Regions from separate parts of the Homo sapiens genome. Here all the other regions are linked to region 3. The links are contacts of gene promoters, found by promoter capture Hi-C in blood cells and fetal thymus (Javierre and others, 2016). All regions are on one chromosome and are shown on one strand. Each heading gives the region's core, a stretch centred on a gene start or on the middle of the fragment in contact. The rest is flanking DNA. Distances are from core to core; before and after follow the strand shown.

Region 1 (4,437 bases), core at 1,120-3,619, 2.8 Mb after region 3:
CACGGGCATATACTTTACCTTAAAGATCTGGAGAACCGGTATATCTCAGGAGGCCCTCTGTTTCACCTCATAAGGGGCAATATATATTAATAAAATACTTACGTATGCTTTTATGCATTCTTTATGGTATTTTTAAAATTGATTTTTATTATTAAAATTTTTAGACCAGGTGCAGTGGCTCACACCTGTATTCCCAGCACTTTGGGAGGCCAAGGTGGGCAGATTGCTTGAGCCCAGGAGGTTAAGACCAACCTGGGAAACATGGGGAAAAACCCATCTCTACTAAAAATACAAAAATTAGCTGTGCATGGTGGCCCACACCTGTATTCACAGCTACTTGGAAGTCTGCAGTGGGAGGATCACTTAAGCCCAGTGAGCCGTGATCATGCTACTGCACTCCAGTCTGGGCGACAGACTGAGACTGGTCTCAAAAAAAAAAAAAGAAAAAAAATTTTTTTTTTTTTACCAGCCATTTTTTACTCCCCAAATCCTGCTCTCCCTTTACATTATTTTTATTTTGGAAACTGGGCTGCTATAACAAAATACATTAGACTTGGTAATTTATAAACAACAAAAATTTATTTTTTACAGTTCTGGAGGCTGAGAAATCCAAGATCAAAGCAACAGTAGACTCTGTGTCTGATGAGGGCCTGTTCCTTATAGATGACACTTTCTTGCTGCATCCTCACATGGCAGAAGGGGGCAAGGCTGCTCCGTTCAACCTCTTCAGTAAGGGCACTAATCCTGTTCATGAGGGCAGAGTCCTTATGACTTACTTCCCAAAAGACCCCATCTCTTAATGCTATCATATTGGATATTAGGTTCCAACATATGAATTTTGGAGGACACCAGTATCCAGACCACAGCAGAAGCCAAAAAATGACAAAACATTCTGGCTATAATATGCTGTGTATAATACATTCCTGAAAATCTTCACATTTTAAGAAAATGGCTCACTTAAAATAAGAGCCTAAGGAAAAAATAAGTCTGGGAAAGCCCTCTCAAACTCTGAACAACTGAGCGGTGGTTCCCAAACTTTGCTACTTACTGATATGATCTTTAAAAACTGATAGCTGGCTCCCACACTCAAGACATTCTGAGTTAAATAGAATGAGGTTCAGCTGGGCCTCAGTATTCTAAAACATCCGTAGTTAACTAATAAACAACAAAGTCTGGCAACCACTGAACTGTAGTATTAACAGACAATAACAACCGAAATGAAAATAGTAGTTCATTTAGAAGGACGTGTAAAACTCCTAACAAATAAAGCAATGTTATATTAACTTAAAGAGTTTTACCTTTTTAAAAAAGTTGAAGGTTGCTTAAAGAATGACAGTTTACAGAAGGGTAGACACTGATGAGTGATGGAAACAAGGGCGGGAGATCATCAGAAGTAGCAGATGGAGAAGCAGTTGCAAACTTTGCAGGAAATGTGGAGTTGCCAGAGATGGATGGCTCTGACTCGTTGTCTGATGTCGCTTTTGCCCAAAGATGTGAGGGAGCTGCAAAATAAGCACTATCAAAATGGAGCATATGGCTGAACCAAGCCCAGGGAAGAATGGGGTCCCACACCGTGAAAGGTCATCATTTGAGTGCTATACTCCCCCAGGCCTGGTTCAATCACAAAACTAAGTGCAATAATTGTACTTCAGCTATTGTGTCTTTGTACTACAAAGCATTAAAGTGCTATGAAAAATTATGTATGAACCAACCCACTTTCCCTATTATTCTAACATTACTCTCCTGTTTAACAATCTCATGTGACCTCATGTGTACTATAAAAAACAGTACTCGGCTGGGTGTAGTGGCTCATGCCTTTAACCCCAGCACTTTGGAAGGCCAAGGCAGGCAGATTACTTGAGCTCAGGAGTTCCAGACCAGCCTGGGCAATGTGGTGAAATCCTGTCACTACAAAAAATTAGCCAGGCGTGATGATGCGCACCTGTAGTCCCAGCTACTCAGGAGGCTGAAGTGGGAGGATTCCTTGAGACCAGGAGGCAAAGATTGCAGTAAGCCAAGATCTTCTCACTGCACTCCAGCCTGGGTGATAGAGCTAGACCCTGTCTCAAAAATAAAAAATAAAAAAGACAATACTGTAACATAACAGACTATGTTAGTATTCCACTGAGAATCTGGAGTTTAAATAATGTCATCCTGCCCCTGTTTTACTTATCTCCTTCTGTGGTTCATACTGTCCTTTAGCACCAAGTAATTCTTTAGGTAGGCAGTTCTTCCACCTCTGACTTTGCCCTAGAAGGGTACTTGAATTCGTATAACTTGGGCAGCTTTATTTAAATAGCACATACAGCATATGACTAATCCAAATGGAGCACCCATACCTGATCATTTTTCAATATCTTTTTTTAAAAAATAAATTACCATGTATGTGTTATCACTATAGTGAACCAGATTAGGGAACTTTATTTTAAGCTGAGTACATTTGCTTTCTTTTTTATTGTTTTGCTTGGCTTTTAAAAATTGTCTTTAGCAGCTTGGATTGCAATACAGGTAAAATTATACTGTCATTTCCATTGAATTTTTTGCATGCCAAAATTGGAAAATAATATTGATATCAGAAATTACTTAGGTCACTAGGATCTTCAGTCTGAATTCATTCCTTAATGTTATAATCCACACAGAAGGAACAGATTGATTTGGACTTGTTGCAGACATTGTATGGCAAGGTAGAGCAATGCTAATTTATTGATTTTTTTTTTTTGGAGAAAAATACTGAGGTTAGGCAATGAGAGATGAATAATGTAAGAAGGTATATAGAAATGTAAATGGAATAGTGAGAGTGAAGTATAAGAATTACATTGACAAAAGCTAAACATAAATAACCTTGAGTGACCAATAGAAAGCAAATGCCTGAAATTACATTAAAACACATGGGGAGCAAATAAGGGTTGAAAATTACTTATTGGGTACAATGCTCACTACTCAGGTGATGGGTGCACTAAAAGCCCAGATTTCATATATGCATGTAAGAAAGCTGCACTTGTACCCCCTAAATATTAAAAAAAAATTTTAAATTAAAAACATATGGGGCAGAAAAAAATCAAGGCTTTCCCTTATTTTTGATAAATTCTCATTATATAAGTTTTGTTTCATTTTTGTAACAAATCAGAATGACTCTCCCACTTCCACCCTTTTTCTTTCAGACTATGGATCACAGATATTTAGAGCTAAAAGGGAACCTAAGAATTTTCAAATTTACATTCTGTGTCATGTGGATTAGGAAACTGAATCCCAAATAAGTTCATTGACTCTTTTAGGGTTACATAGTAGAACCTACAATCAAGGCCTCCTGGATTCTAGTTCAGTGCTTCTTACAATAGTTAATAATAAAAGTAACTGTTCTACTTGAAGGACAAAATTTTGAGTTTATATGTACATATGATCAGCGCATATCCATGGATACGTCATTGCTATTGTATGTAGACTTTTTCGGAAATCAGAAGGAATATGTATACCTTTGAGTCCAAATACTCAAAGGCAGGTTGACATTTTTCAGATGTCACTACCAATGGGAAGAATAGGAAAGGCAACTAAGATATTGTGGAAGGTAGAATAATCTCTCCTACCCCCCCAACCCCCAAAGATGTCCACATCCTAATCCCTGGGAACTGTGATTGTTACTTTACATGTCAAACAGCACTTTTCAAATGTGATTGAAGGTAAGGACCTCGAGATGGTGAGGTTATTCTGGATTACTCAGCTGGCCCCCTCTAATCATGAGTCCTTAAATGCGGAAGAGGGAATCAGAAGAGTGGGTCTGAGAGATGTGACATGAAAAGACTTGTCCTGCTGTTGATGGGCTTTGAAGTTGGAGGAAGAGGGCCATGAGCCAAGAAATGTGGTTATCTTTAGAAGCTGAGAACAGCTCTTAGTTTATAGCCAGCAAGAAAACAGGGACCTTGGTCCTACAACAGCAAGAAACTGAATTCTGCCAAAATCTAAGTGAGCAGGAAATGGATTCTTCCCTACAGCCTCCTTCTGGAGGCATACATTCTACTAACACCTTGATTTAAGTCCAGTCAGACCCATATCAGACTTACAGAACTGTAAGTTAATAAAGTTTTGTTGTTTTAAGCCACTAAGTTTGTGGCGATTTGTTATGGAAGGAATACAAAGTGATACAGATATGCAACCTCTTAATTTATTGTCTTCCTGGATAAAAGTAAAGTGTCTATACTGTACATAGGAGGTTTTGAACATTTTTTATTCATTCTAAGCAACTTAAGTACTATTGCTCATGGCCATCTTTTTCTGTGGCACAAAGTCTTTGTAAATTCTAAACTTCTACCCAGAATTTCCTCTGTGGTGACATTAAGTAAAAGGTGAGTTTCTTCAAAGTATTATTTAATATATTTGTGTGTTTTTCTCATTATACTGTCATTCTTATAAAGTGGATGCTCCACTGTCATGACAAGTAGT
Region 2 (4,717 bases), core at 1,191-3,690, 2.6 Mb before region 3:
GAAGTCCTAACTCTTCCAACACTTAATTTTGGATAAACAAGAGCTCTTTTATTGGATAGGCTAGAGGCATCACAAAGCAAATTTTGTAAAATGTGAGACCCAGATTTTTGCTCTAAGTCACCTGGATCTGGCCTACTAACCTTATTTACAGAACTTCCCAACATTCATCTCCTTCCTGAAGAGGATAAGAACATTTACTCCTCTGGCAACTCTCTCCCACCTGAGAACACAGGGCCTTTGATCCCCTTGCTACTCACATTTAGACATTCTGAAATCCCTTTCTGATGCCAAGGATGATGTTCCTAATTCTACTATCACTAGCCTAGAATACCACTCTCAAGCCACTGCCCCTCTGCAAAAGGATTGGCCCAGAAATCTACACATTTTCTCACTACATGAAACTTAATTATGCAGTACCTTAGTCAGGATCAAATAGCTCTATCTAGTTTTGGTGTCTTTAGCAAATATGATACAGCAGAAGCCTGAACCCAGGGTTACAACAAATCAACACATATGCATCTTTCATGATCATATGATTCTATATTCTAGAATACATCCTACAATGATAAAAATTCTTAGAATCTGGAGGAACAGGGAACAAAGACTATGACCTCATAAGCTTCTATTCATCTCAGTTCCAGTGACTATACCAGCATTGCCTCGTTTGAAAAATAAGGTCATTTCGGCCAAATCCAAATGTGGTTTCCAGAAAAGAGTGACTTAGGGTATCCAAATACATAGGTCCCTTCACAGAGGAGCAAATGGATATATAGGTGATTAATTCCAATGTAATAGTTTCTTTATATTTATGAAAATGTATATATATACATGCACATGTATCTTTAAAATGTCATTAGTACATATATGTTTGTTAATAAATATTTCTTCTGTCCTAAATTATAATTGTGGATGATATAAATACTAGAAATTAAAAATTATGATGGTAATTTGGTAAAGGCCTATTTTTCAGCAATCTGAACTGGAAAGGCTGTATTTCCATGGTTCATGTTTCTAGGGGCAGCTATCCTAAGGAAGAGGGGAGCATATTATTAAACTAATCTATTTCTCAGGGTATTAGTTTTCTAGGGTTGCTATAACAAAAGTGCCACAAATTGAGTGGCTTAACCAACAGAAATTTATTATCTCACAATTCTGGAGGCTAGAGGTCCAATATAGAGGTATTGACAGTGTTAGTTCCTTCTGAGGGCTGAGAGAAACAATCTGTTCTATGCCTCTTCCCTAACTTCTGGTGGTTTGGGGGCAATCTTTGGTGGTCCTTGGCTTGTAGATGCATCACTCTGATCTCTGCCTTCATCTTTGCTAGTGGTACTGAACAGTGTGTGTTTCTATGTCCAAATTTCCACTTTTAATAAGGACATCATTGACACTGGATAAGGTCTCACTCTAATGACCTCATCTTAACTTGATTACATCTGCAATGACCCTATTTCCAATGAAGGTCACTTTTTTTTTCTTTTTTTTTTTTTTAGACGGAGTCTCACTCTGTCACCCAGGCTGGAGTGCAGTGGCATGATCTCGGCTCACTGCAACCTCCACCTCCCTGGTTCAAGCAATTCCCCTGTCTCAGCCTCCTGAGTAGCTGGGACTACAGGTGCGTGCCACCACGCCTGGCTAATTTTTTTGTATTTTTAGTAAAGACGGGGTTTTACCATGGTGGCCAGACTGGTCTCAAACTCCTGACCTCAGGAAATCCACCCGCCTTGGCCTCCCAAAGTGCTGGGATTACAAGGCGTGAGCCACTGCGCCCGGCTAACTTTTGTATTTTTAGTAGAGGTGGGGTTTCACCATGTTGGCCGGGCTGGTCTTGAACTCGTGACCTCAAGTTATCCATCTGCCTCGGCTTCCCAAAGTGCTGGGATTACAGGCGTGAGCCACCGCACCCGGCCTGAAGGTCACATTTTGAGGTAATGGGGATTAGGACTTCAACATATAAATTTTGGGGGAAACAATTTGTATTATGGTTCCCCAGAGAAACAGAACAAATATGGTATATAAAAACATATGTTATCTGGGGAACCCTAAAGCAAATTGTTTCTCCCTAAATTCGTGTGTGGATGTGTGTGTGTGTGTGTGTGTGTGTGTGTGTGTATTATAAGCTAAATAGCCAGATAGCTGGTAAAACATTTCTGGGTGCGTCTGTTACGTCTGAGGATGCTTAGAGAAAAGATTAGCATTTGAATTTATAGAATAAGGCAAAGAAGATTACCCTCACCAATAAGGTGGCCATCATCCAATCCCTTGAAGGCTTGAACAAAGAGACAGAAGAAAGGTGAATTCACTCTCCCTGTTTGAGCTGAGACATCTATATTCTTCTGCCTTTGATTATCAGTGCTCTTACTCTTGGACTGGGACCAGGATTGATACCATTGGCTCTGTGGGTTTTCAGGCTTTTGGGCTTGGACTGAATCACAACACCAGCTTTCCTAGTTCATCAGCTTGCAGACAGCAGATTGTGGGACTTTTCAACTTCCGTAATTGCATAAGCCAATTTCTATAATAAATCTCTCTACATGTATGTGTGTGTGTATGTTTATATGTACTTGTGTGTGTATGTGTATATATATGTGTGTGTGTGTGTGTGTGTGTGTGTGTCCAGATGCTTCTCAACTTACAAAGGGGCTATATACCAATAAACCCATCATAAAATTGAAAATATCATAAGTCAAAAATCCATTTAATACTCCAATGAACTATCATAAAGTTAAGAAATCATAAGGCAAACAATCGTTAAGTCCAGATGTTTCTTGACTTATGGTGTTACGTCCCAATAAACCTATCTTAACATCAAAAAATCGTAAGTCAAAACATTGTAACTTGGAGATCATCTGTATATGTGTGTGTATGTGTGTATGTGTATATACACACACACACAATAGGATATATAAAAATATCCTATATATAGGGGTATTTTATATATATCTCCTATATATATGGCTATTTCATATGTGTATATGTGTGTGTGCATGAAATTAAAATGAAATATTAAATATCCCACTGGTTCTCTTTCTCTGGGGAACCCTGACTAATACAGGAGGTTAGGTCTGAGAAGTGGGGCAGGGCCTTGTGGATTGCAAGGTGTAAGAACTTTGACTTTTACAGCTTGAGTGAAAAAAATCATGGGAGAATTTTGAGCAAAGTACTTTTTAAAAGAATTATTCTAGCTACTGGGTTGAGAATAAAAAAAGTAAACTAATAAATTAATAGAAGTCAAGTAGGTGGTGCCATATTACACATACTGGGTGAGGCATATACATATAATAACTCATTTAATGTACTCCAGAGAGGGAGGCAAAAGTCAAAGTAGGGAGACCTGTTTTGGGTGTTCTTTTCTTGTTGTTGTTTTATTGATTTACAAAAGTTCCTTACATATTCTAGGCATCGCCTATTTTTTGGTGGCTATATGGGTTGCAGATATCTTCTTCCCGTCTGTGTTGTTTTACAATTTAAGTTGTGTCTCTTGTTATTCAGAAGTATAGAATATTAATGTAGTCAAATTCACCAACCTTTTTTTTGATAGATTTTATTTCATTTTTTCATAGATGTTTGTATTGGGTCATACTGCTCACAGTCCTGCCACATGCAGACTCCTTCTTCACACTGCCCATGATGTGGCATCTAAACATAAATCTCAATCCTGGTGCTTCCTGTTTAGAACCCTTAGAGAACTGCCTGTGGCTCTGTGACCCTCATCATTTAGCCTCCTGTAGGTCTACTGGCTCTAGGATACTGTGATAACAGCCACGTATATGTATAAAAGGCACACTTTATGTTATTGTGCTTTGCTATATTGTTTTACTTCGCAGATATTTTGCAAATTTAAAGTTTGTGGCAACTATGTATCAAGCAAGTCTATTAGCACCATTTTTTCCAACAGCATGTACTCACTTCATGCTTCTGTGTCACGTTTTGGTAACTCTTGAAATATTTCAAACTTCTTCCTTATCTATTATGGTGATCTGTAATTACTGATCTTTGATGTTAGTGTTATTAAGTGTCTTAGAGTTCAACAAACCACACCCATATAAGACAACAAACTTAAATGTTATTTGTGTTCTGGTTGCTCCACCGACTGGCTGTTCCCCATCTCTCTCCTTCTGCTCTAGCCTTCCTATTCCCTGAGATACAACAATGTTGAAATTAGGCCAGTTAATAATGCTGCAATGGCCTTTAAGTGTTCATGTGAAAGGAAGAGTCACAAATCTCTCACTTTAAAACAAAAGTTAGAAACGATTAAGCTTAGTGAGGGAGGCATGTTGAAAGCTAAGATGGGCCAAAAAGTAGGCCTCTTGCACCAGTTAGCCAAGCTGTGAATACAAAGAAAAAGTTCTTGAAGAAAATTAAAAGTGCTACTCTGTTAACACACGAATGATAAAAAGGCAAAACAGGCCAGGCGCGGTGGCTCACACCTGTAACCCCAGCACATTCAGAGACCGAGGTGGGCGGATCACCTGAGGTCAGGAGTTCTAGGCCAGCCTGACCAACATGGTGAAACCCTGTCTCTACTAAAAATACAAAAAAAAATTAGCTGGGAGTGGTGTGCCTGCCTGTAATCCTAGTTACTCAGGAGGCTGAGGCAGGAGAAATGCTTGAACCAGGGAGGCAAAGGTTGCAGTGAGGCGAGATCGTGCTGCTGCACTCCAGCCTGGGCAACAGAGAGAAAACTCTGACTCAAAAAAAAAAAAAAAAGAAAGAAAGA
Region 3 (4,509 bases), core at 1,088-3,587:
CCTTATTGACAGATTATTTTTGTTTTTGTTACTTCAAAATTTTTTCCAACAGCCAAAGTAGATAGGCTCTATACTATAATTTTTGAGCAATAAAGCCTTTAGGTCAAAAGCTAATGGTATTAAATCAGACAAATGTACCGAAACACAATTAAAACACCATTAGATAATCCTCACATTTCTTTTAACAAGAAAAAGTGATAAAAATATTTGGTATATGGCATTAAACATCTCATCATGTCATATCCCAACTGAAAGTAGTAGGTACAATCATTTAAACATTAATTCTAGGTAAGTTTTCCCCAAATTATATGCCAAGACTAATCATCTCATTGGATGTCTGCTAAAAAAAAAAAGGAAAAATTAATAAAAAAGATTCTGTTGTTATGTAAGTTGAGAAAAATCTTTTCATAATATACTTCTTTTGGAGATTTCCAGTCCACAATAGCCTTTTAAAGACTCTATGAAGTCCTATGGTTAATTTTTTAGAAGTATGTTCCTTTGTTTAAATAAGCATTTCTGAATTTATTTGGCACACAGTTCTGTTAATCCATAATACCTATTAACTTTAGAAAATTCTAGTTACTGTAAAGAAATGCACGTTTAAAAAGCCTGTAATATGTATAATGTAAGCCCAAATTACAAGAGAATTTAAAATTTTAAACAATAAAATATAAAAATAATTTAAAGTAAGTTACCCTTTATTTAATGCCTACTTTGTATCAGATACTAGAAATTCTAATCCATGTGTAACATTTTAAATCCTTGGATGATTCTCTTTTTATAGACAATGTAAGCCCCTCACAAGTGATAATACAGTCAGAGTCAATGAGTAAATTAGTAAAGCCCTAAAACAAACTCAGATCTGACATCAATGTCTGTGCTCAGTCCTGCAGAGAACACTACTTCAGCAAATCTTCAGCATTTCAACTACACTAAAATTAAAATGAATTTGTGAGATAGCTGGAGAACCACACACACAATTCATACTTCATATCACAATCCACTGAACAGAAAGTGGCTTCCATGCCACCACTTTTTATTATGTGCCACCTGAAACTTACCGGAAAAATATACTCATAAGCAAAGGGTATAGAAGTGGGTGTGTGGTCATGGGCAGAGAAGCCAGGAGCAGTGAAAAGGACAGGTTCTTAGCTGCAGCAGGTGGTCCCTGAGCCACCTATTTATAGTCGTTGCTCTATGAAAGAGCAAAGTTAATTTGGGGAAAAAGTCCTAGAGACTACCAAGCTATCACTGAAAGAAAAAGAAATGTTCATTAACTGCTAAAATTTTTAGTACAGCACATAAGAAACTTTACAGTGAAATCTAATTTCTGTCACTCATTTTAACCAAGAAAATGACGATTCTGTTACAATTTAAAATGTATCTAATGTGTAACTAAGTTTTCAAAATTTGACATTTGCCATGGTCTCTAAAGAGCTATATATAACCTCTGCTTCTGTGCTTTCCACTCTTGAAAAACTGTGAATAGGATGAACTTTAAAATAAGTATAAATGCTGAAATCTAAGTTCGATACGAAAAGGCTCAAGACGACATCTCAACATTTATTATGCTGACGTCCATTGAAACATAGATAACTATGTCAATGACGGTAGAGAAATATTTTTTGCACAATCCCACATTCTAGAAAGGAATACACGTGTCCCAATGCCTCCTGCTCTTGCAAAAGCCAGAAAAAAGTAGCATGGGAGGGAAGGGGAAGGCGAGATTCAGGGCTGCCAGTTCTTTTTGACAACTCCTTATGCACTAGCGGAGTGAGCCAGAGGACAGTGAAAGAGCACTAGGCGCTAGCAGTGATGACAAGCAAGTCTGGCACTGAACGCGCGCAGCGAACAGGAGTAGTAGACGCGCCGACTTACTCTGCACCTGCAGGTCCATCTCGCGCATTTCCGTGAAGCGGTCCCGCAGATCCATAGGAAGCTGCTCAATCACTGTCAAAGGGAGAGTCCGTCAGAGGGGCGGGGCCAACGGCGAAATACGCGCTTACGTCACTGCGCGCGTGCGTCAGGGGGGTCGAGGGGGCCGGCAGCCCACAACGAGGCTGCCAGTTACCGTGAGAAAGAAACATCCCCCGCCGCCCCCTCCCTCCCGCCATCTCGCTGCCCGTCCACTCGCGCTCTTGCCCGCCCGCACGTCCCACTGGCGGCCGCCGCCAGCGCCGCGCACTCACTTTCCAGATAGTCTTCTAGGTACAACATCGCGGCCCTTAGAGCTGAGGGAACAAGGGGGTCCAGGGGTTTATTTGTGTCACTCGCTGTCGCCGGAGTTTTGTCCCCTCCAATATGGCGCCTCCGCTAGCAGCACCCGCTCGACTCCGGCAAAAAAAAAAAAAGAAAAAAAAAAAAACCACTTTGGCGCCTGAGGCGCTTGCCTCACTGCCGCCCGGAGCTGCTATTGGTTGGTTCAAGCAATGACGTAGCCCGGCCGGTGTTCGCCCCCGTGCCTCTGTGGGAAATGTAGTTTTCTTCCTCCTCAGCGAGGGTTGGCGCGCTGGCGGCTCCCCTCGCAGAAACTACGAATACCGGGCGCCATTGCAAACAGTGCGTAACAGAATCCGAAATGCGGTGCCTCTGTTTATTTGTTGATTTTTGCACAGAGAATGGCGGGAGTTGTATGCACCTGCATAACACAACTAGGAACAACTTTTCACCTGTTCTTTGATGTGATTCCATGCCCCGGCGTTTGTGAGTTATGGGTTTCAAGAAGTGCCAGGCAAATAGCAAAGGTTCTAAACACTAGAATAATCAGCAAAGTTCGGGGAATTTGGATTGCTTAAAATAGAACTCTCTACTGGAATTTATCCTCATTATTCACTCTAAAATATAAAAGAGACACCTGGTTGGCTTACGTGTAATTTTAAAATAGTTTATACTGAGACTATGGAGTGAATATACATTTCCCAGATTAAAAGATGCACAAATAGTGTCAGTAGCCACTTATATATTCTAGTTTGCGGTCCATCTAATCGTCATTCTAATGTAATTGATCTATACATACAATCTGCATCCGCAAATAATAATAATAATAATCTTCATCATCACAGTGAGCAGCCATGAATTACGGATGCAGCCTTGATTTCTAATAGGCTGTTAATAGCAGTAACTTTATGTTGAGTAAATAGTCCATATTCGAGGTTGGTTGTCTTCGGCGTTCTTTAGTTTCTACTTTTCGACCTCTCCCAGCAAATGTTTTCCTGTGATATATTTAGTACGTCCCTACTCAGTTTCTTTTTAAATTGTTTTTTATTAAAAACTCTTGCACTCAATAAATGCTAGATATTGTTATTTTCCACTCTTCTTAACTTTTCGATTTTCTGGGGAAATTGTCATTAGTTCATAATTTATTGTTCATTTTCTGTTTTTCAAATTGCAGTTGAAACTGTGTGTGTGTGTTTCTTGCTTTCCTTCTCCATTACATACTCTTGTACTCAAGGTTTTCACTGCTCTTAAGCAGGAAACTTTCCTGTCGTGAATGATGAATCATGATGAATCTCAACGGAACCTTACTTCGATCCTAATAAGAATTAGAATTTTATAGTTTCTAGTTAAGTTTTTCATTACTTCCATCGAAAATCAAGTACTTTCGATCTTTTTCTCCCTTCTTTTTTTCCTCCTTTCTTCGTTTCCCATCCTTCCTTCTTCTGGCTGCTTTTAACATCTCTTTGACATCTTTTTGCAGTTTTGTAGTGATCTAAGTCTGAATTCCTTCCTTATTCCCTTTTCTTTCCTTAAAATTTTAAAATTATGCTTAGGATTTGAGGGGATTCCTGAATTTCAGGATTGGTGCCCTGCAACAATTCTAGAAAATTCTCAGCGTTTGTCTTTTCAGTATTGCTTATTTCTCATTTTTTCCATTAAGACTTTCTCTCTTTATTCTCTTATTTATCTTAATCTTTCTTTTATATGTTTTATTTTAGAATTTTCATAATTTTTCAGGTTTGGAAGTTCTATTCGGTTCTCTTTTCAAGACATCTTATAATTTCTTATACAAATTATTTAGTCTGTATCTTGTTTCTGTTAAACCTAATATTGAAACATTTATGGGCCTTTTAGTGCTATTTCTTCAGAAATGGGCACTTTTACTCATGGTGGCTTTTTCCTGTTGGGTTGCGATTTTGGACTCTGAATTCCTGTTTCTGGGATTACAAGCATAAGGATTCTTTGAGCTGGAGTTGAAATTGAGTTTTCATGGAGAGCATTAGAATTTGCTTGTCAGTTTGTTTGGAGACATCATAAACCCCTAGGACCAGATTAAATTGTCCCCTTGAGGTTTATTGTATTGCACAGATAGATTGAATTTGGGCCTCTATCCCAAATGGATTGTTACAGATTCTCAGAGGAGAATTTTTTTTTCTTTCTTTACTGGGCTCCAAGGCCAAGACAGACATGTTTCATTACTGGCCTATTCTGTGCATGAGGCTTATATGTCATTTACCCTTACATGGAGAGTATAGTCCATTGGGGCCCCAGATTTTTGTCTGCTGTAAGACT
Region 4 (4,891 bases), core at 126-2,625, 2.8 Mb after region 3:
ATTCTTCATTTCAGATCTCTGGCATATTCTCATTTCTCATTTATCTTTTCACACCAAAGAAATCTAACCTTTTTATAACTTAATCACTTTGACTCTGGTTGCTCCTTTCTGTACTTTCTCTGCCTCGTGTTACTTTTAAAAATTTGATCAAATTTTTAATTTTAAAATATGTGATTAAAAACATCACATTACCTTTGCACCAGGGAAGCATACTTTCATTTACAATAAATTTCCAGTCCTGTCCAGAATTTTCATAGTTTTTCTTTTCACCAAAATTATCAGGGAATGCTATCAATTACTTCTTAGTACTTTTCCTAGGCCACAATAAATAATTTGGAGTCCATCATTCAATATCAGGATAATTGTTAGCTATCATTAATATTGACAAATTAGTATGTTCTAGGGAGTGCTAACTGCTTATCTTAATCTTGACAGTACAAGGAAGCAGGTACTCATTTTCATAGCAACTAAGACATGGTAAGATTAATATGCTAAGCTCTGCAAACTAAGTATGACTCCAGAGTCTGTGCCTTTCACTGCCATGCTACACTGGACTAGCCCAAGACCCTAATCAACAATTTCCTTTTAAAAATCATACCTCCTATGAGTGTGAATTGAAGTGTCTCTGTAATTAGCAGAATCACAATTAAAATAAAGCTTATCCAAGTCAGATTCAGAGAGCTATTTTTTAAAATAAAAATTTAAATTTTAAAATAAAAAATTTAACTTTTAACTATCATTGTGATCACTTTCAGGGCATTTATTTTAAAATGTGAAATAAGCCATAGTGCAGCATTTTCTGGCAACTTGTATCAGTTAATGAGTTTTCTAGAGTATGATTTATTATAATCATTTTGTTGATATGAGATGAAACATGATAGCTTGTGCATATTTTCATATATCAAACAGAAACATATTAGTTTCCTGCCTGTTCCCCACCCCAACACACACTAGTTTTTAATACAAGACACAATGTATTGTGTCCCTGGAGTTGTCTCCCCACCCACCCTGACTCCTGGATTCTTTTTAACGTATTTCAAATGTAATAACAATTTGGTACCATACTAATTATATGGCATTTGTAAAGCCAGTATATGTGGAAAAAAAAAAAAAACCTACATAATAGCAAAATATATGCAGTGTAATTGAACATTACCCTAAAGAGAAGAGAGAAAGCGTATCATATCCTTGTAGGGACATTGATGGGAATTTGATACCAGTTGTAGCAATGCTTGATCTGTGCCATTTCTAACAAGTAATACTCTGTAAAATAAAAGGACTTAGGCTGGGCGTGGTGGTTCATGCCTGTAATTCCAGCACTTTGGGACGCCGAAGTGGGCAGATCACGAGGTCAGGAGATCAAGACCATCCTGGCCAACATGGTGAAACCCCGTCTCTACTAAAACAAAAAAATTAGCCAGGTGTGGTGGCGCGTGCCTGTAGTCCCAGCTACTCGGGAGGCTAAGGCAGGGGAATCGCTTGAACCCAGGATGCGGAGGTTGTAGTGAGCCAAGATTGCACCACTGCACTCCAGCCTGGCGAAAGAGCAAGAAGTGTCTCAAAAATAAATAAATAAATAAATAAATAAATAAATAAATAAATAAATAAAAATTAAAGGACTTAAAAAAAAAGAAACATTAAAAAAAGAAGGAAATGAAAAGGCATAACAAAAAACTAACACAAAAATTGAGTTAAAAAAAAACTTAATGCCAAAACCAAGAAGAGGTCGGAAAGGTATCTGGAAGAACAATTCTCAGCTCCTTCATTCCCCAGATGATGCCAGTAAGTAGGAGATGGCATACTGTTAACTAATGAAAGAAATTCTCCTGGTGAAGTCCTATTTCGCCTTTATCCTTAGAATTATGCAACCTACAGACTTAGCAATCTTAAAAGAAAAAAAATAGATGGGGAAAATAATTGACTTGAATTATATTTATTTTAAAAAGACTGTTTCTAGTTGTTTTGAATGAATCCAGAACCCATAAATTATATCCCAGAATACTGAAAGAATCTGATGAAATAACACGACCTTCGACAGTAAATCTGAGTCAAGATGATTTGGTTGAGGTAGATACAGACAGATAGAAGCTTCACAAGCACAAGAATACTGTTCCCTGGCCTATCCACAGCTTTGAGCATACTGCCTGGCATGTATTAATGGCTTGATAAGTGTCCCTGACAAAATTCCAAAATCTATTTTTTTGAAGTTTGTGGACAGGTAGAAAAGAAAGCAATGGCCACTAGGAGGCAGCATCGATTTATGAAGACTAAGCACGTCTCATGGTTTCCCACTATACAGAGGAATGAAGATCACATCAAAGCATCTGACCAAATCTCACATCAATAATCCCTATAAACAGGATGGAGCATAAGTACTAGATATCTCACAATTAAATGAATTTGTCGCTAGTTTAATGGGAGCACTATGCTATTTAATGGGTATCAATCTAAATGGAGATAGCTTTACCTTATCAACATTTTTTTCAGTATTACATGTAGACAGAAAGGAATTTTTATCAAATTTGCCCATGACTTAAAACTGAGATTCACAGCCCAAGTTTTTTTAAACCCAAAATAAGTAAAATTTAATTTAATAAAATTAAATCTATATGAGGTAATGACTATACAAGTACAGAATGGAGAGGTTCCTCTTTACATGTGAAAGACCTTTGAGTTTACACTTTCAAACTCCTTGAGTCAAGAATATTCGCTGACATAGAAACAAATTTTATTGTACATTTCTTAATACTGTAAACTTACACGTACTTCCCACATAACCTCAATTCCTCATCTATTCTCTTGTAGAGATATGGTAGTCAGTGGGACAGACGCTTAAAAAGCTGACAAGACCTATATTTTTAACTTTTATACATTGGCCTTTGACTACCTGGAATAGTATTAAATAGCTGTTTACGGTTATGTCCTCAAAATCATACCAAATGTTTAAAATGCAGTCTAATGCTACTTTTTACAACCCAAGAAGATAGCTGTTATTATCCTTATCTTGAATAAGATCCTGTGTTTGAAATCAATTCTGTGGGGTTAGAGACTCATCCCAGCAGGTAAGTGCTAGGTCTTTTAATAATTCCACCACTTTCCTTCGCTGTTTAGTGACTATTCCTTTTTGCTCCATTACACAGCTGCTGAACCACAACGAGTAGGGCCCAAGAAAATTTTTAAAGCACCTTAGGTAATTGTAATGAAAACGGCCCACAATGCAGGTTTGGGAACTGCGTTAGATCATCTGAATATTTCTCATCAGGCTTCTGATAGATGCTTGATAGCAGATTTTAAGACTATACTTTCTGATAACAGGCAGTATTGTATAAAAAGCTGAAAGACCTAGTTGAATTTGAGCACTGTTACTTACTAGTGCTACCTCTTACAAGTCACTTGACCCTGCTGAGCCTCAATTTTCCCATATATAAAATGATCATTGTAAGCACTCAGCACCAGGCCTGGCACATGATATGCACTCAATAAATACTACCTACTAATTTTGAAGATGAAGGCCCAGAATATACTAACTATATTGTCAGTTAAGAGTTGCCTTACAACCCTGGCTACTAAATTGTCTGGTTCACATGCCATTACAAAGGGCCTTTACTTTCTCATTCCCATGATGAATCTCAGGTTACACGGCTGAGGAAAATGTTGACATCGTTATTCTGTATTTGCATTAAATACCATTTAAAAGTTGTTTTTATCATACTTATATCTCACATTATTACCTTAAAAATTCCGAAGGATGTTATAAAGTTGTTAAACAGGATGTTTAAGCAAATATTAGTAAAACTTTCTCTCTTGCTCTTCTGGGATCAAGATTTGTAATATTTAGCCAAAACTGTCAGCATGTGAGGCCAAGTTACCAAAGTGCTTTGACATAAAAGCAATGTTATTTTAAACTATTAGTTTAGATAGTATCTTGTCAGTTAAAAAAAAAAAAGTCCCTTTTGCAGTTAATTGCCCTTTCCAAATAACTTTAATGAAAATATCTTGCCAAGAAACATCTCTTTGATTCATTAAGCTGGGTTTAGATTGTGCCTGAGTCACAAAGCACAGAGGTAATTACAGGTTGAAATTGATTTGCGCCTCTTTATAAATAAGAACTGATTATAGAATAAATGTCTCATTAAATATAAAATATTGACACTGTATATTAATTATGTTACTACTCATGGTTGTGGCTCCCTTACAATTCTCATGCAAAAATAAATCCAATTTTAATCGGTTGTGAGAAAACAGTCCACCATGTGCTTGTATCCAGGAATAAAGAATTACATAGATTATCTGGCATATTGTCATCACATCCTCTGTAACTATTCATAAAAACAATAATTCACATTTTGGGAATGCTTTTTCCAACATCAATCAGGAAAATACAGCTTTATAAGGTGTTTCAGATTGCAAGAATACATCACATTAGAAACCCATTATCATGAGGGACAGGACTGGTTTTTATTTGTTTATGTGTAATGTGTTGATATGCCAAGTATTTTGAGAAAAGATCTGACTCTGGACTTCATTTGTACTGTTAGAATGCATTTTTCTTAGCAACTGAACAATGTGTATTCTTATTTAATTTTTGGAATTACTTTACCAATTCAAAATGCCATATACTACAATATTTCATTCACAGTCCCTAAATTTGCCTGTTTGCCTTACCCACTTTCCATCATTTTATTAATAAATTGATTATAAAACATTATACTACAAGTCAAGTACTTATGAATAGCCAATACTAGCTAACTTCTCTAATTCTCCCAGAGACAGCCCTTAACATCAACCAAATAATTCTAGAGAATAGTGCTTCTCCCCTTATAAGGCTGATTTGAGTGAAGATATTTTCCTCCCCCAAAAAGCTATTATGTTTAATAAGTATGAAGTTTAA
Region 5 (4,929 bases), core at 881-3,380, 2.8 Mb before region 3:
ATTTTGCCAGGTGTGAACAATGAAGACATTCCACCTACAGACTCTATCCTATCTAGGTCTTAAACTGACAAGAATAAATCCCAGTGGTTCATTACAAGTTCCGTCCCCTCAAAAGAATATGATTCAAACATAGTTTGTGTAATGCCATAAGCCTTATATGCTTGGGAAAGGGTGGAAGGTGGCTGGTGGGGGTGGTAAATTTCATCCCCTGGAGGTCGTCTTGAAGGTCTACTTATTGGAATCACCAGGAGGGCTTCTTAAAACATAGACTGATGAGTCCTATCCCCAGAGTTTCAGGTTCAGTGGGTCAAGAGTGGGGCCTGAGAATGTGCATTTCTAACATGTGATGCTAATGCTGCTATGAGAACTGCTGGCCAGTCTCCCCCAGTCCATTGGGATGCCAGCCTATTTTTTGTCCTGGTTATTTTCACTTTAGTTTCCAACGCTCCTGGATACTAAGCTTGCTTCCATATGCTTCCAGAGTTGCTTTCTAAGACCAAGTGAAGCCTTGACTTAGTGTTTTTGCAATCACTTCATGCTAAAAACTATTATTCCCCCAAATCCCTAAAATATGACACACATTTCTTTTCTCAGACTAGGCCCCTGGACACCTGAGCTCACTCAGGAGGAAAAAAAAAAAATCACTTTATCCTCTGGACTTGAATTAGGTTGCTGGGTCATCTCAAGTGGAGGTCATTCCTTTCTATTGCTGTTGTCACAAGCCCTGCTCCTGCTACCATTAGGTTGTGTGCAGTTTCTTATGTATTGTGTTTTCTCTCCAGGTGCTCTCAGAATACCACATGCTTAGTACTGTGTGGAAGAGTTTGGGCAAGACTGTGGTTTCTCTTTATTTGATCTCAGATCCTGTGTAACTATCTTTGTACCTGATAAAAATTCATATGTTTTTATTTGAATCAAAGGTGGTCATTTGATCTACAAATATACGTTGAATAATGTATAGGTTCAATGTTAAGACTAAAAAGATACAAAGATGAATAAGACATGATACCAGCTCTTAGAGAGCTTTGAGGCTAATGTAGGAGACAAACATTTAAAAAGTAATTACAATTTACAAATGAAAAGCCTGCATATCACTGACTTTGACAATTTATTATATCAAAATGACTTACTTCAATTTGCTTTAATGAATCAGCTAAATAGCTATTTATAGATAAATGATATCAACGTGTATGAACATATAGTACTAACCCATTCAACCATTACCAACTTTCTAAGGACAAGTAACCTAGTTAATGTGGGGGAAAAACACAGTTCTTATTAAAGACTTTGTATGGAGGCAAAAATAAATAAAGACTATTTACTTCCTAGATACAGAGTTTTACAATTTTATTATGTATGTAATATGCATGTAATTCAGTACACAAAAATGCTATCATCTTGATAAAATTGGAAAGCATTAATATTTCATATTATTGCTTTTTCTTAACAAAGACCCTCTCCCCAGTCATCAAACATCCTGAAGTTCCAACTGTCCCCAGTTGAATTCACTAGCTGCTGAGTACCTTTTGAATACTTTTTCTGTGTTCATGGAATTTCTGACCTTATGAATCCGCAGACCCTTAACAACGAGCCTGAAATCTCCAGCTCTTTTGCAGCTAGGGTACAGGTATGTGACCTTTCCCTCATCAGACACACCCATGGGCAACTGTGATTTGAAAACACATAAAGTGAAGAAGCATGTGGCAAAGGGCAGCAAGGATGGCAGCAGAAACACCCTGCTTTTAGAATCTCAGAAGAGATTCTAGTTTCCAATTCCCAATGTTAGCAGTAAATCTATAGTATCTCTGCCCAGAGATGACCACACTGAAGGGCTCACTGGAGTAGTTCCACAGTGAAACTTGGGTGTGCTTTCTAATTGTATAGAATGAGTCAGAAAATCTGACATTTGACCAACAGGCATTCCAGAAAGCGAAAAGAGAAAAAAGGGGAAGAAAAATATGAAAATAACAAAAGAAAAATTTCCAGCACTAAAAGACATGAGTTTTTGGATAAAAAGGGCCTTTGGAATACCCAGTACAATAAATGTAAAAGTATTCCACTATGGTACATCATCAACTTTCAGAATTCCATAAACAAACAGAATTCTGAAAACTTTTAGAGGTCATAAAGACTTATATACAAAAGATCAGAATCAGAATAACTTCAGATTTCAACAGCAATGTTGAAAGTTCGAAATCAATAAAATAACACCTTCAAATACTGAAGAAAACTGGTATTCAACCTGAAATTTTCTACCCTGTTAAACTAATCAACCAAGAGTGAGATTAGAATAAAACTATCAGCTATGCAAGGTCTCAAAATTTTACTATCTATGCACTTTTTCTTAGGAAGCCACTAAAGGATATACACTATCAAAACAAGGGAGTACATCAAGATGGATGACATAGGTTCCAAGAAACAGAGGGTCTAATACAGAAAGATAAAGGGAAATCCCAGGATAGTAACTCAATAAAATTCCAGACAATAGCCATGTAGCAACAGTACAGATTAATATGGGATGATGGATGGCTTTGGGAGACAGGTCTTTGATTAAAATTAGTGAGTCTAATAGATTCCTGATACACTTGATTATGTGGAAAATAATATGAGGAAGGACTTTATAGTTCTTAATATAGAAGAAATAAAAGAAATAAAATTTAAGCAAATTATTGAGGGGGGTAAAATCCAACAAAGTTAAAGTGGTCCAAGAATGTAACTTCTGTTTTATGCTGTTTTAAGTTTTGTACTACTATTTGATTTTTTAAATTATGTGCATTTATCATTTGTATAAAAATAAAAATTGATTTTAAAAATGTTACATGGTAGCAGAGACCATATCCTTGACCCCAATAATTTCAATGTGGTAATGGGGACATGTGGCATCTTCAAATTTTCCCAAGTATCCAGCCTGCCTACTCATTTATAATGTAGATTGACCTTGAGAACATTACAATAAAGAAATCAATGTTGTTCTCTCTCATTTGGAATAATAATAAGCCATTGAATATTCATTAAAGTTAAAGAGCAGCCAGAAAACCATAAGCAGCATCCTGGGAACTATAACATACTTAGCTCTTCAAATCATTTCTTGATTACAGGTAAGTACTAGGTATTTGGAGACTAGGACATATAATGGTAGTAACTATCACTGGTAATTTTGTAGCATGAATAAGTGTTCAATTTTCCACTAACTTCAATAAGAAATCAGAATGATTTGTAAATAAACTATTTATTCCTAAAAAAGAAAGCCCCAAAGAGGTTTGTAGTTAAAATGAATTTAAAAAGGAGAGGCAGAAAAAAAATGGTGTGCTAGCTTACTTTTCAGAATTTAGTTGATGAAAAAGAAAACAATTAACATTTAACTTGGGATAACATGTACTAGAATAAATTCTTGTAAGCATTGCCATATGCAACATTTACATAAAAATGTGCAGATATTTTACAAGACGAACATTTTAGACACATGACATTTCTGGAGGTTGCATGGGAGAAGTAGCACTCATTGCCCCTGCACTTTTTCTGCAAATCCAGATTTGCAGTATTCAGATTTGCTGTTGTTCTGTCTCTATAAAATCAGTTCTGCCATAGCCAAGCAGCAATTATGGCTACAATGGCTGCTGAATGCCGTGTGCTTTCAGCCACCTTTATATTCCCCCACAGTAAAGGGTGTCACTACATTTTAAATTATTAACATTAGCAAGGGGAATAGGGTGTTTCAGAGGACTTTTAACAGTACATAAACAATGACATTTGTAAAGAAGAAAAATATATAACAAAGAACCGTAACAAGAGAAGCTTGCAAAGTACCCATAAGGATAACAGCAGGAATGTATCTGAAAATATGCTCTCATTTCCATAATAAGCTACCCTAATGTTTTCTGTTAAAATGAGGGCTTTACCTTAAAAGATCATACCAAAGAAAGAAGAAAATGAAGTACTAGAATAGATGCTAGTTGAGGTAAGGAGAGTCAAATGGAAGAAATTAAATGTAAGAATTGCCTTTTTTTTGTTATATTCATATACACCGTAATAAAGCTTTTTTTCACAGCCCTCTCCCACTACTCTTTCCTGTCTTCAAAATAGGTTGGTGGTCTACAAGCTCTGAAAGCTGGTATTTCTAGCATATGCATTTTATATGTATATTAAGATAAAACCCCTAGTCTTCTTAACAGCGCTTACAAACTTCAAGATACTCTGTTGAAGGGAAACAGAATGCTTATGTCCTGGATAAAATCCAATCTCTCAAACTGGGTAAAAAAATTTGAGATAAGGAAATAACTTGCCAAAGAAAACAGAGAGAAAAGATGTCTTGTGTTCTGCCAAACAGAGGATATGCTATCAAGAATGAAAGAAAGGACTTGCTAAAACTTTTGAAACAAAAACAGCCAGTACTGCTTGGTCTCAGGATGAGTATGGAAAAATAGAATCCTTTATGTATGGTAAGGAGGGAATCCCCAAATATTGCTTGTTCACAGGCTTAAATGAGTAAGGAAGTCATATTTCCAGTGAAATGTTCATGCTTACATTTTCCACATCAAGAGTTGGAAAAAGCCCAGAGAAAAACAAAAATAACAATGGAGGGTAGAAGACAAGAACTTAAATTGCAATTTTGTGGACAAAGGACTATACTAAAAATTTGGAGAAAAATTAAAGAAAGGTTGGACCTGAGGAAAAAAGTCTACTGTGGTCATCATTTTCCATCTCCAAGTCTAAAGAAAACAGAAAAAGGGCAAATAGTAAAAAGAAAATTGCATTTAGATAAGTCATAAAATTTCCTGAAAGAAAAGAAAATCAAAACAATAGATAGTCTAGGCTAGTAAGAGGTTGTGAAATGATTGGAACTCAATAATTCTCAGAATGAGATAAATTCTTGAACGCAGCTACTGTCCATTCACCTATCATCTCATGGCCTTTTTTTTTTTTTTCACA
Region 6 (4,839 bases), core at 397-2,896, 2.6 Mb before region 3:
TGGACTTTATGTAATTATCTAAAATAGTGCTTAGAAACTCTGAAGGTAATTTATATACATGCATAAGTGATCCTAGTCACATATATTTCTTCTTATTAGATTACCAGACTATATAGTTCAAAGAGAATTCCTATCTTTCGTTAGGTATGCAACAAAACAATGCAGTTTGTATTATATCGTATTTTGTATTGTATTATATGATGGGTCTCACTCTGTTACCCAGTCTAGAGTGCAGTGGCACGATCACAGCTCACTGCAGCCTTGACCTGCCAGTCTCAAGCAATCCTCCTACCTCAGCCTCCCAAGTAGCTGAGACCACAGGCACTCACCATCATGCCCAGCTAATTTTTAAAATTTTTTGTAGAGGCGGAGTTTCACTGTGTTGCCCTAGCTGATCTCAAGCTCCTGGCTTCAAGTGACCTTCCTGCCTTAGCCTTCCAAAGTGCTGGGATCACAGGCATGAGCTACCTGCACCCGGTGCCTCACCTATTTTATCATCATCTTTCAAATAGCCTCAAATGTTTTTAGCTTGTTCCTATCTTAAAAATAAAAAAAACTGTATGCTTGTATTTTCCTTTACTTATTGTCCTATTTTTGTTTTCTCCCATAGCCAGTTTCAACCAAAGAAGAGTTTACTCTCATACTTCTTTACTTACTGGTTCCAAAATCCTTTTCTCTGCTATTTAAACTGCCTTATAACTAATTGATCTGTTTGTACTTCCATTATACTTCATTACATGCTCCACCATACAGCCAATAATAGACTGATTTTTTTTTCAATATGTAAATCTTGTGATGGTACAGTTGTCCCTTGGTATCCATGAGGGATTGGTTCCAGGATTCCCATGGATGCCAAAATACAAGGATGCTCAAGTCCCTTATATAAAATGGCATAGTATTTGCATATAACCTATGCACATCCTCTTGTATACTTTAAATCATCTCTAGGTTACTTATAATACTACAATGTAATGCTGTGTAAGTAGTTATACTGTATTTTAAAAATTGCTGTATTGTTATTTTTATTGTGTTTTTTTGAATATTTTCCATCTGTGGTTGGTTGAATCCATTCTTAGTTGAATCCACAGATGCAGATCCTGAGGGCCAACTGTGCTGTCTTGCTTAAAATCTTACTGTGGTTTTCTGTTCAGTGTTTCTCAAAGGCTGAGTTTAAGGATTTATGTTGAGCTGGTTGTATGAAGCTTGCTTAGCTACCTTTATCTGCATGATTTTGATGTGTGGCCATGTTTGGGAACCACTGGCCTAACAGGGTAAAAACATGGTATAGAAGGCCTTCTAAGTTCTGGCTCTTGGTTATTTTCTCAATCTGATCCTGTTGCTTCCTGTTTTATACTCTATACTTAAGCAGTACCAAACTGCTGGCAGTTCTGTGGATTCCTTGCATTTTTATTTTTGTGTTCATTTGTATTTTCTCATTTCCTGGAATGCCTTTACGTTGTTTGGTAGTTCTTACTTTTTCTTCATAAATCATCACTTCTTCTGTGAAACCTTTTCTTACTTTCTTAAGTAGAGTTTGACAACTTTGTTACCTCCTTTCCATTGTACCTTCATGCTGTATTATGTCTCCACCAGCCATAAGCTACTTGTTAATGATATTGGATTCAACTTTGTATCCTTAGACTCTAGCATGGTACCTGGAACATAAGGTTCCTTAGAAATGTGTCTTTATCCCAAAGGCTAGATATAACCCCAAACACTTAACAGTTGTATCTCTGATTCCTGTTTTTGGTAAAATTATCACAGATTTTTAACCCTGCATACAGCCACACACAAAATCTTTAGTGAATATTGCCATTATTATAAAATATCTATTTACTAAGCCTAAGGTGGAAATAAAAGTAACTTTTTTTTTCAGATTATTACTAGGGAGATAGTACTATTTTGGTGAAAAGCGTTGTTTGTGTCCCTGTCCAAGATTTTCATCTTAGTTCTAATACTTATTTGTGGAGTGACTTGGCATATTGCTAGTTTTCTCGGTCTCAATTTCATCATCTATAACGTGGGTATAATAATACCCACCTCGAACACTTTTTGTTAGAACCGAATGAGGTAATGCACGTAAAAGCTTAACATAGTCCCAAGTATATAGTGAGCATTCAGTACATGGTACCTTATCAAGTTTAATAGCATTATGCCATTGGTGACTAAAAATCACATTATTCACTATCGGTAAGACAAATTTTGAACTGTTCACCTAACACAGGCTTTTTCTGAAATGAAAGTGTCGTTGAACTTTCCTTGCCTTCTTTACCTTCACTCTCCTGAGTCTCTTATAACAGTGACCAGCTTCCCTGTTTTGTTTTTGATTTTTGGTCTCTCATATGAGTTAATTCCCTGTTAAATAATCTGTCTTAAACATGCTTATTACTTTTTCCCCTTTTCTCCCCCTTTCAGCTGTTTTTTATGTATTCACTTCTTTAACCAAGAAACATTTATTGAATGCCATGTATGGTTCTAGGCATGGAAACTTGTGCCTAGTTGGCACAAAACAGATAAAAATCCTTTCCTTCTTGGAGATTACATGTTAGTGATGGGAGACCAAAAGAAAAAAAAAAAGTAAAAACTGAGTAAAGACGTACATAGTGTGTTAGAAAATAGTAAGTGCAGTGAAGGAAAATAAAACAAGGAAAATGTGTGCCATGGTGGGGATAGGGGATGTTACACTATGTATTAATTTCGTATGGCTGCTGTAATATTCCCACAAACTTGGTGGCTTAAAACAATGTAAGTTTATTTTATTAGACTTCTGGAGGCCAGAAGTTGGAAATCAACATCAGGGACCCAAATCAAGATGGTGTTGTCAGGGCTGTGCTTCCTTTGGAGGATATTGGGTAGAATCTGTTCTTGCCTCTTTCAGCTTCTGGTGGCTTTTGGCATTTATTGGCTTGTGGTCTCATCACTGCAATTTCTGCCTTTGTGGTTACATTACCTTTTCCTTTTCTGTGTGTAATATCCCTCTGCCTCTCTCTTATAAGGACACTTATAATTGCAGTTAGGGACTATATGGATAATTCAGGAAAATCTCCCCATGTCAGCATCCTTAACTTGATCATATATGTGAAGTCTTTGCTGTATAAAGTAACACTCACAGTTTCTAGAAATTAATACATGTATATCTTTTGTGGTATTTTTCAGCCTATCATAATGCAAATTATCAGTAGTTAATCAATAAGAAGGTGTTATTTGAGCAAAGATTTGAAAAGTGGTGAAGAAACAAGTGATGCAGATACCCTGGGCCATCCAGCAAGATACCCTGAGGCAGTAACATATCACGTCTTGTGTTGAAAAGCAAAATGTATTATTTTCTCCCTCTTTATTCCATTTATTGGCCAGAAAAACACCCTGAAAAGACAAAGCCTTATTTACATATGTGGGTATATTTACAGAGCATGATTTCTGGCTCAAAAAGCTCAGTTTACTAGAAAATAACTAAATGTCATTGAATGTTCTAGGTACTATATTTATTAACATTTTGTTCTTAAAAACTTCTATTAAATAATTATATACATTACAAATGTGTAGAAAAAAAGGACTTTTCCAGAACAACAAAACCCTTGCCTCTTCCCCTTCAATTTACTACTTGTAAAGTTAATCTCTATTTGGACTTCTTTTTGCCTGTTTTTGAATTTTATATAAATGAAATCATTAGTATGTACTGTCTTATACATACTGTACTCTGGCTTGTGCTTAATACTGTGGTTAAGAGAATCACCTATATTGTTGCATACAGTTTATTCATTTTCATTGCTGTGAAGTATTATATCCAAATATTATAATTAATTGATCCATTCTATTACAGATGATCATTTGGGTTATTTCTAGTTTGGGGCTATAATTTGTGCTGCTGTGAATATTCTCAAACATGTTTTTTAAAAAATATATTATGCATTTCTGTTTGGCATTATGCCTAGAAGTGTAATTTCTGGGTCATAGAGTAGCATTTATTTCTAATTCTAATGCTCTCAGAGGAAATACAGGAAATATTAAGAAAGCAAAGTCATATTTTAAAATCTGTTTTAGGAAGACTGAATTTGACATTGTATTTCTGTCCCTTGATCAGCATGTCAATAAACATTTAGCACTTTTCAATATTAAGACAGAAAAGCAATGAAATAGCAGAGGTGAAATGAATTTTCACCAAATATTTAGTAAAAAGAGTATGATGAAAGAAAAGTTGTATTTTTAAGTGTTTTTATATAGGAATTTTAAAATATATAGGATATTGAAACATTCAGTTAGTATGCTTCTTTAATTTTTTTTCTCCCTGAAATTATAGGAACCAGATGTTAAAAAATTAGAAGACCAACTTCAAGGCGGTCAATTAGAAGAGGTGATTCTTCAGGTAAAGAAAAAGTTGACTATTTAGGTGTTTGGTTTCATAGAGACACACAACTGACGTTCTAGAATGAAAGGAAAACTAAATTTCCTTGTTTATATCAACTCGTCAAATATGTAAGACTAATCACATATAGAAAATGTGGTGCTTCTCATGTGTATGTTGATTATAGTATTTATTGTTGATTATAGCATGAATTTATGAGACTTCTGTTAGAAGCCTGGAGTTTGACACTCTTTTAATTTAATTAGCATGTTCTCCTTGGCCTAACCTTAGTTTAAATTGGTAGCACAATATTACTGTTGTTTTAATAGTTGTATCTTATTTTAAGAGTGTGGCATATTTTTAGTAGGGAAAAATACAGACATTTTGAATTATAAAATTAAAATGTACTTTTATTTTTATTTTTGGTTCTTGAGCATTTGAGCAAGTTAAAAAACAATTGCATAGTATATTTGAGAGCTTAATTCTACATTATTTCC

Evidence for each region. The method cuts DNA at HindIII sites, captures the fragments that hold promoters and counts their contacts. A CHiCAGO score of 5 or more calls a contact.
Region 1: a contact is called between a fragment that was not itself captured here and the fragment with the promoter of ING3 in region 3, in 2 of 17 cell types (non-activated CD4 T cells and total CD8 T cells). The highest score is 6.6, in non-activated CD4 T cells.
Region 2: a contact is called between a fragment that was not itself captured here and the fragment with the promoter of ING3 in region 3, in 2 of 17 cell types (neutrophils and non-activated CD4 T cells). The highest score is 7.8, in neutrophils.
Region 4: a contact is called between a fragment that was not itself captured here and the fragment with the promoter of ING3 in region 3, in 2 of 17 cell types (naive CD8 T cells and neutrophils). The highest score is 6.4, in naive CD8 T cells.
Region 5: a fragment that was not itself captured here is called in contact with the fragment with the promoter of ING3 in region 3 in 1 of 17 cell types (total CD4 T cells); the score reaches 5.6 in total CD4 T cells.
Region 6: a fragment that was not itself captured here is called in contact with the fragment with the promoter of ING3 in region 3 in 2 of 17 cell types (non-activated CD4 T cells and total CD4 T cells); the score reaches 8.6 in non-activated CD4 T cells.

What each region holds. Positions count from the first base shown.
Region 1 is chr7:118,175,320-118,179,756 of GRCh38, reverse strand. The region is part of intron 1 of LOC105375470 (a long non-coding RNA gene); the gene reads left to right. Among named protein-coding and RNA genes, the nearest start is that of LSM8, 6.6 kb to the left of the region's middle. The HindIII fragment of the contact is 7,095 bases long and covers 1-4,437 here.
Region 2 is chr7:123,562,789-123,567,505 of GRCh38, reverse strand. It overlaps a transcript of NDUFA5 not described here and a transcript of ASB15 not described here. Among named protein-coding and RNA genes, the nearest start is that of NDUFA5, 7.3 kb to the right of the region's middle. The HindIII fragment of the contact is 3,637 bases long and covers 622-4,258 here.
Region 3 is chr7:120,948,605-120,953,113 of GRCh38, reverse strand. ING3 (inhibitor of growth family member 3) reads right to left here and starts at 2,337. Exons shown (of 12, transcript NM_019071.3): 1 at 2,190-2,337; 2 at 1,879-1,950. The coding sequence starts at 2,217. RefSeq lists an enhancer at 1,715-1,794. The HindIII fragment of the contact is 9,487 bases long and covers 1-4,509 here.
Region 4 is chr7:118,193,419-118,198,309 of GRCh38, reverse strand. LSM8 (LSM8 homolog, U6 small nuclear RNA associated) reads right to left here. Exons shown (of 4, transcript NM_016200.5): 4 at 1-4,891. Among named protein-coding and RNA genes, the nearest start is that of LSM8, 12 kb to the right of the region's middle. RefSeq lists an enhancer at 2,223-2,282. The HindIII fragment of the contact is 1,431 bases long and covers 660-2,090 here.
Region 5 is chr7:123,751,409-123,756,337 of GRCh38, reverse strand. No RefSeq gene overlaps it. Among named protein-coding and RNA genes, the nearest start is that of WASL-DT, 4.7 kb to the right of the region's middle. The HindIII fragment of the contact is 3,335 bases long and covers 463-3,797 here.
Region 6 is chr7:123,545,135-123,549,973 of GRCh38, reverse strand. NDUFA5 (NADH:ubiquinone oxidoreductase subunit A5) reads left to right here. Exons shown (of 5, transcript NM_005000.5): 4 at 4,298-4,363. Among named protein-coding and RNA genes, the nearest start is that of NDUFA5, 10 kb to the left of the region's middle. The HindIII fragment of the contact is 884 bases long and covers 1,205-2,088 here.